Linked DNA regions of Homo sapiens: region 2 is linked to region 1. Evidence: promoter capture Hi-C in 16 types of primary human blood cells and fetal thymus (Javierre and others, 2016). All regions are on one chromosome and are shown on one strand. Each heading gives the region's core, a stretch centred on a gene start or on the middle of the fragment in contact. The rest is flanking DNA. Distances are from core to core; before and after follow the strand shown.

Evidence for each region. The method cuts DNA at HindIII sites, captures the fragments that hold promoters and counts their contacts. A CHiCAGO score of 5 or more calls a contact.
Region 2: a contact is called between a fragment that was not itself captured here and the fragment with the promoter of WIF1 in region 1, in 1 of 17 cell types (M2 macrophages). The highest score is 5.1, in M2 macrophages.

What each region holds. Positions count from the first base shown.
Region 1 is chr12:65,119,867-65,122,627 of GRCh38, forward strand. WIF1 (Wnt inhibitory factor 1) reads right to left here and starts at 1,439. Exons shown (of 10, transcript NM_007191.5): 1 at 1,178-1,439; 2 at 551-690. The coding sequence starts at 1,325. RefSeq lists a silencer at 1,600-1,759. The HindIII fragment of the contact is 2,494 bases long and covers 1,025-2,761 here.
Region 2 is chr12:66,111,094-66,113,793 of GRCh38, forward strand. No RefSeq gene overlaps it. Among named protein-coding and RNA genes, the nearest start is that of LLPH, 18 kb to the right of the region's middle. The HindIII fragment of the contact is 1,421 bases long and covers 707-2,127 here.

The DNA.
Region 1 (2,761 bases), core at 189-2,688:
GGTAACTTGAAAACATAGGCTGCAATATTTTATAACGTTCTTACATGACACCTTTTGGGTCTAACTTCTACCAGAAATATGCAACATTCACGTTCCAGTGAATAACATTCAACATACTGACTTTTTAAAAGTGCACAATGTCAAAAATACTTACAAACTTTAAAATTTGTTGTAAAGTATGAAGAATGTCACAAGTGATTAGAAACTACTATGCAAAAAGAGTCCTTTAAGTATGTTAAATTTTAATGTCAATGATCACAGAAACACAGTGATGTTGGTATTGGAGGTCTTTATATTTCCAGCAGCCTCAGGACACTGAGTCTTATCAAAATAATGGGCTTAGGCACAAGGCTTGTTCTTTTCTTTTGAAGATCATTAATTGATATGGCAACTTGAAATAAATGGAAATTAATTCTTTATTTGCTTTGGCAATCAGATGAGAAATTTCTCTTAATAACTGTAAAATGTACCAGGCTACACACTATACAGTACTATTTCCACCTGCCATAAGGCAGTGGAAATATTAAAGGGTAATTTTCTCAGAACTTACCTGCCCTGCAGCTTGCCAGGTAAAATTCATGGAATGGATATTGACAGGAATAGCTGGCATTCTCTGTTGTGCTTTTCTGAAATCATGTGTAAAAGGTGCCATTTTCCCCTCTGAAACAATCAGGATATCTTCTTCAAATCCTGGTTTTTAAAATAATAAAACGATCAAACCAGGTAGACTTGAAATCATCTAAATCAGAAGTTTCAAGCAAAAAGAAAACCAAAGAATTAGTGTGGGTCATTTCTGTTCACAAGCATCTGCCTTCAGTACCATCAACGCTACTAAGATTAATTTTTCTCTGTGGATGATGAGAATGATGCCAACAGACCCATGCTTTCAGGGAAAAGGGATGGACATGGAGTTAACCGACGCAAAAAAATGCCGGGTGCACCTAAAAACGCAGGGCTATAAAAATTAACAACAGCATGATCAGAACACTAGATCAGCTTTGGTTTCTTAAAAGAGAAGTTTATAAGCTTTCAGATGGAAAATATCTAATTAAAAGAGGGGAACACTCTTTTGTGGAAATTAAGTTTTAAAACACAAGAAACGCAGGTATCCCTCTTTCTTGAAGAGTGGAGAGAGGAGGACATAGGCAGGGGAAGGCGCTGGAGGCGGGGGCCTTACCTATGAGTACTCTTGCCTGGTGAGCATCGATCCATAGGTACAGGCTCTCCTCCTGCGGCGGCCCGGCCTCCGCCCGCAGTGCCAGCAGGCACAGGAGGATGCTCCAGAGCCAGAGCGCGGCGGCAGGGAAGGCGCTCCTCCGGGCCATGCTGCTCAGGACCTCCTCGCTGCCGGGAAAACTCCTCGTGCCGCACCTACGCAACCTGGCGCCGTCAGATACTCTGCTGCGCTGCAGCTCCCTCAGCCAGGGCTGTTCCCGTTTAGACGGCTGGGCGCGTCGCCTCCCGGCCTGGGTGCCAAGGAGCCTGCGAGAGCAGGAGGAGGGGGCAGGCAGGACGCGGGAGGAGGAGGGGGGGACCAGCGGGCGCGAGTCGCGCAAGAAGATGGGGCGCGGGCGGGAGTGGGGGCGGCAGAGACGTAAGACTGGCAAAGCTGGCGAGGCCAGCAGTCAGCGGGGCAAATAGAGCGAGAACAGAAGAGCGGGAAGGGCTGGCGCGAGCGAGGTGCGAGCGAGGAGTGGGGCCCGCGAGGCCTGGGCGGCCGCCACTTGGGGGCGCTGTGGGGCCCCCCCGGGGGCGGGGCCGCGAGGGACCCCCGAGGCTGCATTCACAGTGCGGTGCGCCCAGTGGAGCGCCCGCGAAGTGGGCGTGTAGGGCTGGCGGACCCGGAGAAGGGCACTCAGAGACCCCTGGGACATCACTCGCCACCTCCTCGGGCCAAGGGAGGCTTCGGGGGAGGGAAATGGGGAGAGCAGACAACGCTGGGCTTGACTGAGTGCTGATGATGGTGATGGTGATGGTGATGATGATGATGATGATGATGATGAGGTGATGACTCCTGTTCCTCCTCCGGCGCTCACTGAAGGCGCAAATTGCCCTTCGTCTCCCTTTCAGCCAGTAGGATTCCTCTCTCCGCCAACCCTATGCGCTCCGTTCTGCGATAGGCTGGCACTTTGCGCGCTCCCAAGCAGTTAAAACTCGAGGCTCGACTGTCCGATGGTGCCGATGGCAGGCGCTGGCCTTGGCTCGAGGCGCAGGGCGTCCAGCTGGTACTTGCCCGACACCCAGCATTTGGGGATTCCCGTCTGTCTCCCTGATAACCCGGCAGTGCCCGGAAGAGTGCCCTGGGCCCTGGACGATAGCTGTACCTGACCCTCCGGGGTAGGGCTCCTCTAACATCGTGGATATCTTCACGTTTGCTGATATTTTTTAAAAGTTGCTGAATTCGGCCGGGCGCGATGGCTCACGCCTGTAATCCCTGCACTTTGGGAGGCCAAGGCGGGCGGATCACCTGAGGTCAGGAGTTCGAGACCAGCTTGGCCAGCGTGGTGAAACCCCGTCTCTACTAAAAATGCAAAAATTAGCTGGGCATGGTGGCGGGGGCCTGTAGTCCTAGCTACCCGGGAGGCTGAGGCAGGAGAATCACTTGAACCGGGAGGCGGAGGTTGCATTAAGCCAAGATCGTGGCACTGCACTCCAGCCTGGGCGATAGAGCGAGACTCCGTCTCAAAAAATATATAAATAAATAAATAAAATAATTTTTTAAAAGTTGCCGAATTCACAGGTGCGTGGGGGCAAAACCAAG
Region 2 (2,700 bases), core at 167-2,666, 990 kb after region 1:
AGAACCTTGAAAACGTGATGCTGAGTGAAAGAAGCCAGACACACAAGGACAAATATTCCATGATTCCCTTTATATGAGGTATCTAGAGTAGTCAAATTCAGAGAGAGCAAGCAGAATAGTGGAGACTAGGGGTGGAGGGAGGGGAGAATGGGGGGTAATTGTTTAATGGGTGCAGAGTTTCTGTTTGAAATGATAAAAAATTCTGGAAACAGTAGTGACAGTGGTGATGATTGCACCACGCTGTGAAGGTACTTAATGCCACTGAATTGCACACTTAGAAATCGTTAAAAAGATAAATGTTTATGTTTGTATATTTTACCACAATAAAATATCTACTGTTTTCTCTCAGGAAAAAGCAGTAGAAGCCAAGATGCCCTGGCAGTGACAGCCATGGAGTGTGTGAGGAAAAGAGATTACAGAGCGTAAGTGGCATGGGTTTACCTAAGGCAGTTTCCTCCCAGGGCCGGTCAGTGTGTGTCAAACAAAAGGGACTGTCTAGCTAGAGATCACTTTAGAAGTGTCTGACCCATCTAAAGGCAACAATCTCATCAAAAAAACAAAGCAGAACACTGTACAAAGTCTCTCCAGGGCAAGGGTACCAATTTGTCACTCCTGGTATTAGACATCAATATAATGTTAGACCTGCCAGATTGCAGTGGTTGTGAAATCAACTGGAAGTGAAGAAATGGAAGAGAGTATGCTAAGAAGCTTCAATTTGGTCTTGCAGCCATGGGAAGTTTCCTAGCAGGAGAATGACTTACTGAAAGGAATGTTTTAAAAGGCTTAAATTTTACAACCCTTCAAGGGTACCCCAGACAAGCACTCACTCACTCCTGGAAGGATTACTAATTGTTTCAGCCTTTCAGGAGAGCAGTTTGGCAATACAGATAAGGAGTCTTAAAGAAAAGTTCATACTCTTCTAGAACCCTTCCTCAAGAATATAATCAGATAAGGATTAGACTTACATGTAAGGTCATTAATATTACAGAGAAGTATTTTAATAGCAAAAATAAAAAGTTTTTTCAGAAAAAAATTAAATGTCCAAAAGTAGACAAATAAAAAAATATATAGTTTATCACAAGACAGAATGAGGGAACTTTTCAAACAACACTCTTAAAAAATTTCCAGCAGCATGGGAAAAAAATCCCCATGATATAAAGTTAAGAAAGCAGAATATAAAATTATACAGTATTAAGACAATTATGAAAATATACACAGAGCTACACATTCTCTGGGTGGTTGGATTATGAATTATTTATTTCATTTATACTTTCTTGGGTTTTAAAATTTTCTCCAACATACATGTGTTACTTTTATGAGAAAAAACAACAAAAGTTATGGAAAGAAAAAGAAGTTGACAACCACACAAGATGAATTAGAAGGGAAAGAGTAGAGACAAAAACAAAAAAAATCTGGCCTTTGATGGAGGGCATGGGGGAGGGGGGAAGTTTGTTACTGCTGTTTTGTTTTGTTTCAAGTAAAAGATGTTATACTACCTGTGGAACAAAGAGGCACAGCCACCAATGGGAAAGGATTGGTTATTAACTACGGCAGAAACAGACCTACAGAAAAGATCACTAGTCACACACCATAGCTTTATTTAACAACCCCTCTTTTATAGAAAAGAATACAATTAATTTTGACATTAGTCCAAATGTTATTATTTGTGTGGTTAATTGTCACCTATTTATGGTTTTGAAAAAGATTGGTCTGTGAATACAAAGACTCTTGGGCTCCTGGTCTCTGCCATGAACTACTAACCTCTTGGGGAAATTGGCCTCAGTTTCCTCATCTGTTAAGAAGCACAAGTTAAAATAGATGATCTCTAAAACGTTTTCCAGCCTTAAATGCTATGACTATTTTAGTCCATATTAATTTCCTATTAATGAAACCAACCTGTAAGTGTATTTTCAGCTAGACCACCCACCAAATCAAACTAAATTGGAATGTCTTTACATGTGCCAGTATTCTAGGTGCCATATTAAATTAAAACAGAGTTCTTTCTCCAGCATTTAACATTTTCAAAAATTGTTTGTAGACTTAAGGGAAAAGTGAGTTATGAGATTTGTGAAAAAAGCTCTACAATGGGACAATCTTTTTTTTTTTTTAAGTCCAAAGACTAAAAGAAGCTTAGTTGAGGTGGCAGATGGGGAACACACCTAAACATACAAACAACCTTTTGGTACCACCTGCCTTGCATTGATACAGAGTGAGGGTAAGCTTGTCTATTTTTTTTTTTTTTAATACAACTGCCTTCCAATAAGAAACTTGGAGGGATTCTCCAAATATAAAATGCAACAGGATGGAAACATAAAACCAGATCCAACTCACCTGAATTTTCAAATAAAGAACAAAAGCCTTCATTTAACAAACAGAAAATATTTTATTTTTTTACTTTTCATTTTTCTTTTCAGTAGTGGTACTTCTTGCTATAGAAAATATTTTAAAGCAGCAGTCTGCAAACTTTTTCTTAAAAGGCCAAATTTTAATTTAGGCTTTGCTGATTATACAAGAATCTCTGTCACAACTATTCAGTTCTGCCTTTGTAGCACAAATTATTCACAGACAATTCATGGACATGTGGACATGGCTTTGTGCCAATAAAACTTTTTTACAAAAACAAAGGGCCAGCCCATTTGCATACTATCTTAGTCTATTTTCTGTTGCTATAACAGAATACCTGAGACTGGATAATTTATA